2 separate regions of the Homo sapiens genome follow, and region 2 is linked to region 1. Evidence: promoter capture Hi-C in 16 types of primary human blood cells and fetal thymus (Javierre and others, 2016). All regions are on one chromosome and are shown on one strand. Each heading gives the region's core, a stretch centred on a gene start or on the middle of the fragment in contact. The rest is flanking DNA. Distances are from core to core; before and after follow the strand shown.

Region 1 (5,272 bases), core at 219-2,718:
ACACAAAGTCAACTTCAGGGATCCGCAAAACCAGAGGCTGGCGATCCCTGAGCCAGTCTAGCTGCTGGTGGCCTTTTCTCGCCTCTTTCTTCTTCCGCAACTCTTTCTACTGTGACTCAGTATTTTCTCTTCTTTTAAATCTCTTCTTTTCTCCAGTTCCCTAGCTCCGTTCGTCTGGCTCACTGTTTTATCTTTGAGCCGGGACCCTCCAGCCTGTCCCCCCTCCCAGAGCTCCCGGCCGCCTCGTCTTCCCGGGCAGCCGCTCCGGCTTTTCCCGCTCCCCTCGCCGCCGCCACCCTCTGGCCGCCGGCCTCCCAGGCTCCAGGAATCGCCCAGCAAGATGCGGGAGGTAGGCGCTCGCAGGCGGCGTGGCGAAGCCAAGAGTGGCCAGGAAGCCGGCTTTCCTCCCGCGCCGCCACTGCCAGCGCCGGTGTTCACGCTCCGTTCGGGGCCAGGCCGGCTCGGCTTGCAGGACTAGGGGCTGAGCTGGGAGATGTTGGGGGCTACTTTATTTTTCCTTGCAAAGAGTGGACTGTGGTAAAGGAGAGGGAGAGAAACGCCTACGACCCAGGCAGTTCAGGAACTCGAGTGCCGGCTGCCGGGTGAGCGTTCGCCTGACTGCAGCGATCTGCTTGCCCGAGGGCGAGCCCCAGCGCGCAGGGCCTGGGCGACAGATGGGGGGACAGGGAGAGAGAAAGGCACGGGGTGCGCGGGGGGGGTGCACACGGAGAGACAGACCGTAAGAGCGAGAGACAGCATAATAATTGCGCGGCCGTGTCGTTACCTCTGCGCGGCGACATTAGCGTCCACCACTCCGACATTCCGGACCCAGGACCTGACCGAATCCATCTCCGCGCCCAGCGATTTCTCTTTCAGAGTTGGTCCTCTTCCTAAAGTATCTTGAATTCCAAACATTTAAAAAGTCTGATCCTCTACTGTCGCTTTAAAAGTAAGAGTTACAACACAGTCCTGACTGTTCCCAACGTTGCCAGCAAATCGTCTCCTCCAAAGCAATCCAAGAAAAGGGATCAAGTGCCCAAGTTTGAGTCTTAGAAAAAAAAAAAAGATAACCCGTCCTTTGCTTCACTGGCGAGGTGCGGACTGATGTAGTCAAAGTTTGGGTTCTTATCCTCCGCAAGTTCAGATCTGCCGCCTCAGCCACTCCACCCTAGGTCGCTCGCATCCTTCCAGCTGCAGTGCTGCCTCCTGAAAGTGATCACAATTTAGAAGCATCACCTGTTCTGGGAGAAACTGGAGGAAATTGATGGCTGCCTAATCTCTCCCCTTCCTCCAGGTCCCCCCTCCCTGCTCCTCCCCACCGTTCCAATTTAGAAAAAAAAAAAATCCCCAACAGGATCAGTTGTAAAAAGAAGGGGAAGACCTGGAGCCGAGAGGAGGCGGTGGCTGCGAGCGCCACGGAGCCCGGCTGCAGCCGCGCGCGGGCCCCATGAATGGGTTACTACGGCCCTGGCTGCGGGAGGCGGAGCTGCGGCCCGATAAGGAGCCTCATTTGCATGGACGCGCGGGATTGGCCGGCGCCTGGCAAGCCGGGCCGACGTCCTCCGGCGGCGCGCGCCACGCTCTGCGTTGCCGGGACTCCGGGAGGTGAAAGGGGACAGAAAGCTGCGGGCGTCGAGTCCTAGCACGAACCCCGTGTGCTTGCGCAGGATTGGGGGGCCCCCACACCCTGCACTGACTTAGGGTAGCAGGTCTCTGCGGGCTGGGGACGCAGGGGTTCGGCCTGGCTGCGGGAAGCCTCCCTGGATCCTGCCTCTAGATGTAGGCTTTTGTAGCCTGCCGGGAGGCACGTTCGTTCCCGGGGTTCGGATCTGTGTGCATGCTTGTGAGCGTGGCCACATGTGCTTATGTTTTGCGCAAACGTCCCCCAGAGCACCCAGCTCCCTGAATGGCTCCCCAGGTCTCCTGGAGTTCCATGGTGATATCAGATGTTGTGTGCGGCTTGCACGTTGCTGAGAGTGGAGAACATATGAAAGAAGGCGGGGGATGGGGTGGGGCGGACAAGCGAGGGGCAAGTGCTGCTCAAATACAGTGCTGGGGAAAACGGTCCAGGACCTAAGGAAAACACCCGCGGGCGGGCGGGCGCGAGCGGCAGTCGCACCCGTGTGGAGGAGAGGTTGCTGACAGATCGAGGCGGGCTGAGTGCGCGAGCGGCCGGGGAGTATTCCCGCGGGTCCTCCGGTTCCCTCCCCACCTCTCCGTTCCCGAAGCCCCCGGTAGTGGGCGGGGAGGGACGGGGGAGTCGTGGAAACTTCGCCCACCGCGCGCGGTCGCCGCGGTGCTGGCCGCGGGCTGGTGGCCGGCAGGCGGTGGCAGCAGCCTCACCGAACAGCTGAAACCCTAGACGGTTTTTTAACTGCGCGGGGCTGCTCGCGGTGCCTATTAAACATCCTCCTGGCTGGGTGTCATTTTCTTGCTTCTCCTTTTGTATTCTGATCTGCGCATAGATCTGCTGCTGCTGAAATCTAGAACACCAGCGCGAAAACAGATTTGAAGACAATGAATGCAAATCTGTGCTCAAAGACCATCTGCCGTGGAGGAGACAATCAGCTGTTCGTAGTTCGAGCGATTGCGCCCCAGTCTCCCGGTCTCATTACGGGGAGGGCATTTGCGAGCGCCTGGACTGCGTTCAGGGCACTTTCTCCCCTCTTGGGTCTCAGATTTGAGAGACCAGATCCCTTAGGTGTAGGTGAGCGCTCGCAAATGAACTGCTAGAGTTTGCCGCTAGAGGACACAGCGCCTTGCAACTGGTTTGCCTAGGCTGACAGGAAGCTTGCACTTCAAGAAAACTCGGCTCTCTCGAGAAAGGGACCGGTGCGCGCCTCCACCTCCCCAAGGGACAAACCGCGGCACCACGCTGCGTGCGCGGGATTGCGACTAGGAAGTGCTGGTCCGAACTGCGGAGATTCGCTTGAAAACGGATAGGGGGTTAGGGAGTTTGCGGGGCGGGTGCACGGACCGTCTCTGCACAGGCCCCGGGATCCAGGGACTGGGGTCATTGATTTGGGGGAAGGTAGAGAAGGTAAACCCCCCGCCTCTGGGTTGTGTTGACTGTGGTACCCCGACCCCAGAGCTCTGGCTTGGTCCTCCCTGTTGGACTGGAAGGGGCGGGAGAGCCATACAGGGCGATTGGGAAATGGATCGGGTGGCTAGTAAAAGCCAAGTAAGACAGGAGTGTCCAAAGGAAGAAGGGGGTAGGGAGGGAAATTTGTAGGGATGAGATTCACTGCCCTGTTTCAACTCGGCAATTCTCTGTTACATGCAGGTTTTACGGAGAATTTCGGTCCCAGCAAAAACTGATCACCTGGAGTCTTCTACGGTCTCTCTTTATAAATCTCTCCGAACCTCAAGCAACTCCCCCCCACCCCCTTCGTCTGGGGTCTGCGCCCAGCGGGGCCAAAGCCTTGAGTTCCTTGGCAGAGAGTGTGGAACAGCCGTGAGCCCTTCAAGACATGCCTATGAGCCCGGTGATTTTTTTTTCAAGGGGGCTTTGATCAGCTGTACCTCCACGTTGCCCCGGAAAGGTGCGCAGGGCACCCGGAGAGGCCTCTGGTCAGCAGTGGGCCTGGGCCAAGCCCCAACAGTTTACCCCTCAGGCTCAGGTTGGCTGGGGTTAAAGGGCAAAGTCAGGGTCGAGGGCACCAGCTTTTCTCGGCGGTAACAGCTGCCACCCAAATTATGCCCCCTCAGGAAGCGAATGAATTGTTCCTTTCTCCCAGCTCCCTGCTGCCCGCCCCAAAACAGACGGGGCCGCGCTCGGCGGGCGCCCCTCCTCCCAGCCAACCCCCCGAGACGCGCTCAGGGGCCTCGGTGCCCCGCTGGGAGGCAATTTGGGGGAGCCGTGGTCCCGAACTTTGACAGAGTGGGGCTTCCCCACTACTTGCCGGCTGCGCTAAGGGCGCCCCCCGCGGCAGTGCTGCTGGGAGCTCCAGGGATGGCTGTGTGGCTCGCTGCGGGCGTTGAAGTTCCCTGTTGGCCAGGCTGAAGTGCCTGCGCGAGCGTGAGGGGACAAGGACTGCCTTGGGCCCAGCGTGGCGGCGTTTCGGCCAACCCAGTTGGGGTTAATTGCGTCTGTATAGGTTTTGGGTAGGAATGCTCGCGGAGTCCGCCACCCGCGCGAAACATGCGTTGGTTGGGGGAATGAGCAGCGGCGGCTGCGCCTGGAGGGTTGCTCCCACCTCTGTCGCCTCCAGCTACCCCCAAACAAACCTCCTTTTCGATCTCGTGCAACACAAAACCTGCCCCGAGCTGTGCGGGGGCCTGGCAAGCGCAGCTGCGGCCCCGGGAAGCCCAATCCCGCGGGACTGCGGAGCCCACGCGCTCCTCAGGCTCCGGCCAACTAGCTCGGTTCTGCCTCTAGCCCGGGTCAAGAAAAATCCAAAATGAACACTATGATTAAAATTATTCACAATCTATTTATACAAAACTGGGGGTGTCTGTCTTTTACCCTGTCCCCTTCTTCATTTACCCTTCCCAAATGACCCTCACCCCCGTTTTTTTCATGTTTCTGTTTCACGTCTGCAACCCAGTGCGGTATGTTCGATTTCCTTTTAATTGGTTTTAAGCCCCTTTGCTCAATCTCGTCCGGTCCAGTCATCTGGGCGCCAAGTCTCTCCTCCCGATCAGAGGTTCGGAAATTTTACTTAGAAACTGCTCTCCTGGCTGTGTTCCTGTCCGGCAGGACACTGGGGTGAATTCAGAGATGTCAGAACACACCCCTAAATACGACCTTCACCCCCTCTTCCAGACACACACCCCCTGCGCCGAAGCACAGAGCCAGACAGTAGCCGGGGAATTCGATTCACAGGGAGAGCCAGTCTGGGTTTTATAAATGGAAAAAGTGGCTGTCCCCCTGGCCTGTCTTCGAACGTGAATTTTACAATTTTGGGTTTTTTATTTTTTAAGCTGGAACTTTTACTCTTTGTCCGACTACAAAGAAATAGCTTTACTTGGCATATCAGAGACCTGCCGAATATTTAACTCACAATTCTTTATGAAATGCTTTTTTTAAATATCGAACTCCATTAACTCTCACACCAAATTGCAACTTTGGCATTTTCTTCCGGAAACTAGATTTGTATGTTCTATAAATGCAAATTCCCTAGAGAGGGTGGGAGAAAAGAAACTAATCATAAATGCACGACAAATATCTCAGGGGGACTCCGCCGTCAATACCAAACAGCTCCCTTATAGGACAATTTGGGTAAGAAGTGGATTCGCTTCTTTTGTTTTCGCATAGTGAAGGAGATTCAGC
Region 2 (5,271 bases), core at 732-3,231, 530 kb before region 1:
TGGCATCTATCTTCCTTGCATTCCACGCAGGTGTCATCCAGCCACACCCTCCTCTCTGCAGCTCTCTCTGCAAGCACTTAACACCTGGCATGCACCTTCCAGACCTTTCTTGTATAAACATGCATGCATCGTTTTGTTGTTTTCTAACAGGATCACTATATGTGCCATTCTACCACTTGGTTTTTTTAATTCAACAAAATGCCATGAGTATCCTTTAGTCTTTTTATGGACAGCCCTAGTGCTGCTACTTCAGTCTTTTTTAACCCCTTCATATACCTTGAACATCTGTAATGAAGGTGGTCATCTCCTTACTAATGGATGAATGTCAGTTATCTCCAGCTTTTGCAATTATAGCAGTAAATGTAGCAAATACAAAGCCATATTGGGCTTGTTGAAAATATCTGTAAGATAAATTCCTTGAAATTAAAATGATTACGTTCTCTTCTGTGGATCTTAGCTGGCACATTCCCCTTACACACATTTTGGCATCCTTGCCTTCTTTCTGCCTCTCATTTTCTGTTCCTACTACTTAATGCCATTTTGCTTCCATCTTCTGTCACTACTGCCTCTACTTCCACTTAAGCTGCAGAATTGAGGGTGGGCCTTAGACCTGGTATGTGGAGGAGAGAATGATTAATTATACCTGGTTCATGCTTTAGATTGAAAGAGCTACCTTTCAAAGTCAAGTTTATTGAGGTATAATTAACCTACGGTGAAGTTCGCGTTTTTAAAGCATCCAGAATTTTGGCAAATTTATACAGCCATGTAACCAGTGCCACAATCAAGTAATAGGACATTTCTGTCACCCCAAAATTCCTCCCACCTCTTTGTAGTCAATTTTCTACCTGCCAACCCCGGGTCTTCACAACTGCTCATCTGATTTCTAGTGTTACAGTTCTGTCTTCTCCAGAATGTCATACAAATGAGATCATATAATATATACCCCTTTGTGTCTTTAGCTTAGCGTAATGCTTTTGAGATTCACCCATGCTTGCATGCTGTAAGTAGTTGATACTTGTTTATTGCTGATACTTGTTTATTCCATTTTATAGATGTACCAAAACTTGTTTATCAGTTTACCACTTGATGGATATTTCGATTATTTCTGGTTTGGGGCTAATGTGAATAAAGCTGCTGTAACAATTCACATATGGATCATTTTTTATAGTCACATGTTTTCATTTATCTTGCATAAATATCTAGTGGTAGGGTTCCTGGGCTGTATGGTGGTAGTATTAATATATGTTTACCTTTTTAGGAAACTGCTAAACTTTTCCATAGTGGCTGCATGATTTTGCATTTCCACTGGCAACACGTTTTGTTTGTTCCACATCTTCACCAGCCTCTGGTATTGTTAGCCTTTTTTCATTGTAGCCATTCTAGGATGTGTGCAGTAGTTTCTCATGGGTTTTGATTTATTTCTCTAATGACTAATGATATTGAACATCTTTCCTATGCTTATTTGCCATCTTTATATCTTCCTTGTTGTGATGTCTATCCAAATTTCTTGCCCACGTTTGTTGTTGCTGTTATTGTCTTACTGTTATTGAGTTAAAAGAATCTGTACATTTGGATACACATCCTTTATTGGATATGTCTCTTAAAATATTTTTTCCCATTCTGTGGCTTGTCTTTTTATTTGCTTAGCAGTGTCTTTTGAAGAACAGATTTTCATTTTGATGAAGTCCAGTTTACCTTGTTTTTACTTTAATGGTTCATGCTTTTTGTGTCCTAGCTAAGAAATCTTTGTCTAACTCAAAGGCACAAAGATTTTCTCCTGTGTATTCTTCCAGTTCTATAGTTTTAGCTCTCACTTAAGTGTTAGATCCACATTAATTTTCTTGTGTGAGATGAAGGTGGGTTATTTATTTTTAATGGAAATCATTCAACACCATTTGTTGAAAAGATTAACCATTTCTCATTGAATTACATTGGCACCTCTGTTAAAATTATTTGACCTTATATGTGTAGATCTATTTCTGGACATTATTCTGTTCATCTGTATGTCTATTCTTCTACCAATATACCACTGTGACTATATAAGAAAGTTTTGGATTTTTTAAAATCATAGTTTAGGGGTTTTTTTGGAGGGTAGAGAGGAGGCCAGAAGAAGCAAAAGGTTGACCAGCCACATCTGTCTGGGGCCTTCAGTTATTCCCAGACTTGTAGTACCATTTGGGTGCAAGAAGTGAAGCCAGCAATGACAGGCTATCAGAGACACAACAAGGAAACCAACTTCTCTGGGTGCCTCTGCGTTCAGCCTAGTCCTCTGGAAACTAGTTTACTATGGTTTATGATTTAAAATTTGACCCTAAGTTACTAAAAGATTCAGTCATCAAGAAGTAATTCTCTCTCTGGACACTACTCTGTATAGCAGTAAGAAAATAAGGTGAATTAAAATAAGATTCAAAATTCAATTTGCTAAAAAATTACCTAATAAGCATGACTCATTTATTTTCATAAATTGAAGTTTGTATTATAGTTTGATTTAGTGTAAAACTTAGCCAGGCATGGTGGCTTACACTTGTAATCCCAGCACTTTGGGAGGCCAAGGCAGGAGGATTACTCGAGCCCAGGAGTTTGAGACCAGCCTGGGCAACACGATAAGACCCTTCCTCTACAAAAAAAAAAAAAATTTAAATTAGCTGGGCATGGTTGGTTTCAGCTACTCTGGAGGCTGAGGTAGGGAGGATCGTTTGAGCCCAGGAAGTTGAGGCTACAGTGAGCCATGTTCGTGCCACTGCACTCCAGCCTGAGTGACAGCGAGACCCTTTCTCAAATAAATAATAAATGTCACTGTCCTTACTCAGTAACCTTAGCATTTGAGGATTGTTTCCTAATGTAGGAAAATTTTCCTGCACCAGCTCATTCTAGGTAGGCAGATTATGGACTCATTAATAAAATAATTTGCCAGCCATTTATTCAACAACTACTATGTGCCAGGCATTAATTTCTAAATAAAATTGCTTTCAAGATGCTCAGTTTTCTTTCTGTAAGGGGACAAAATTACAATACAGGGTATGATAAAAAAGAGATACCCCAACCTGTCAGCCCTCCAGGGGGTATCAACCTTCAGATCACGCAAGTTTAGTTTCTTTCCAGAATAAGTGATGCTTGAGCCAAATTCACTAATAGGAGTTTTAGAGGAATGGGGACCCAAAAGGCACATCCCATTCCAAATCTCCTTTGATTATTATTCAATAATTTCATTATTCATTAAACTGAGACTAGGTGATACAGGCTGGCTTCATCTCATGTTTTTCTTTTAAGTATTTTTTAACTTTCATTAAATTCTAACCTATAAATACATCTGGAAAAGCATGGATTTGAAACTAGACTACAAGTTGTGAATTGTACCTAAAATTTTAAAGAAACCTGCTCTGTTCTCAATTGCTTAGGCATTTCTGTCTCATACTATTGGGTGTCTTTGTAGTGTGTCTAAAGGGTTTCACTGTGGGTTTGGAGTCCTAGACCAAGTGAGTGGAATTGGGATTAAATTACAGCAAATAATTGTACATCCCCCTTTTGGGGTGTCTTAAATTTATTTGAAGATTATTGCATAGCCTTGATTTAGCTCTAGAATGGGTTAATTACTAACATACTATGGCCTAATAGTTTCAAGTTTGTCTAATATTGTGCAGGTGTGTTCATTTTTGCATATTCTTTGATGCTTTTCTGTTTATGAAATTGTGTTACAGACTGCGAGTAACATAGCTTAAATGAGAAGATAAGTAATTACTGCCTTTCAACTGATACATATTTCTGTTCCACATCTTCAACCAAGATCATACTTAGCCTGATTTTGATATGACCTTAAAGATTTATTAGAAAGGTTTTTAGAAATTTCTAGGCAATTGAGAAGCAAATATTTTCTGAAACTGCTTTTAATTTTTTGATACTTTGTAAGCGTTATATCTCTTACATGAAAAGAGAAAATAAATAAGCATTTACATTAAAGAAGAATACAGGTTTGCATTTTCTAAAGGGTAAGTTGGGATTTCATCACAAAATTTCCGGTGACCACCTGGAAAGCTGACTAAGTCTTTTTCTCATTTATCCTAGGCATACAAATTGACTATCTTGATTTATGTTCTGTGATAATAAGTTGCCTTCAGGGATGCAAACAGCTAACATTTTGGTTTTAGATGTAATTGAAGAAATGTCAAATTATCTTAAGTTTTTGAAGTTCCAAATTCTTAAGTGTATGTGTGTGAATTTTTAAGCTTGGAATTTAAAAGTACATATATTTGCCATATCTAATAATTTATTCTCATGGTTTATTCACTGTCTTAAAGTTTGCTTTAAAAATTCTTCCACTTTGATAATATTTTATAATGTCAAATACAGTGATCTGATACTGGCATTTCTTTTGCTTTTGAAAAACAAACTGCATTCCCAGTGTTCTCATATCCCAGGTCCTTGTTGAAACAAGGAAGTAAATGTCAATAATTTCTTCTTTTTTCACATCACATAACTGCTAAGTAGCAGGTGCTTGCAAAAATAGGTTCATCCCTATGTCTGATTCAAACATGGGAATAATTTTTCAGTATAAAATGGGGGTCAAACAGTTGAAACGTTATAGAGAAGATGAGTAAAATGGGATTTTTTCAGTTCAAGTACATTTAGTTTGGATGCCAATCACTCGAAAGTAAAATGTAAGATTTTCTGCCTAACGTTTGTACAAAATACAGTATGTCCATTTTCTAATTGTTCACAACAGAGGAATAATCAATAAAGCAGCCAGTCTTGTCTTTTCTTTTTTAAGTAAACGCTGGGAATGAAGATTGCAGAAGTATTCCCTGACTCAAACCTGAAAAACCTGGTGTTAGTCTTGGGTGATTTCCAGTGACCCTCTGCCTCCCTTCTTCCTGCCCCCTGTGTAGATTTGGAACCGGGCAGCCATTTTTGTTTTTGGAAGGGAAAGGAGACAGATATAATGAATGGCTTTTATTGTGCAATATTTCAGACTCTCTTGAATGCATTCGAAGGGATGGAAACTGTTCTGCCCTATGTCATAGCCAAAACAAACAAAACATATTCCCTAAACCTGGATATGTGTTTCTCTCAAACTGGCTGTAGTTAAGAGTTCAGCTCTCAAGCAAGAATTCGGTTTGACAATTTTTAGCCCTTGTTCAACTGAGTATTCGGATAGGTCACAGCCAAAGCAAATACTATGGGGAAAAATTAATGCACATATTTACAGCTTGCAGGTGGCATTCTTTCTAAAAAGTTGGAGATTTGTCTTAAGAAATTGCATTTGTGGTAATACTT

What was found. Contacts are between HindIII fragments. The CHiCAGO score rates a contact against its expected background, and 5 or more counts as called.
Region 2: a contact is called between a fragment that was not itself captured here and the fragment with the promoter of EBF2 in region 1, in 1 of 17 cell types (M0 macrophages). The highest score is 5.6, in M0 macrophages.

The regions. Positions count from the first base shown.
Region 1 is chr8:26,043,945-26,049,216 of GRCh38, forward strand. It overlaps EBF2 (EBF transcription factor 2), which reads right to left and starts at 1,469. Exons shown (of 16, transcript NM_022659.4): 1 at 785-1,469. The coding sequence starts at 915. RefSeq lists enhancers at 3,985-4,777, 5,176-5,272. The HindIII fragment of the contact is 12,164 bases long and covers 1-2,788 here.
Region 2 is chr8:25,510,162-25,515,432 of GRCh38, forward strand. No RefSeq gene overlaps it. Among named protein-coding and RNA genes, the nearest start is that of CDCA2, 54 kb to the left of the region's middle. The HindIII fragment of the contact is 4,480 bases long and covers 1-4,221 here.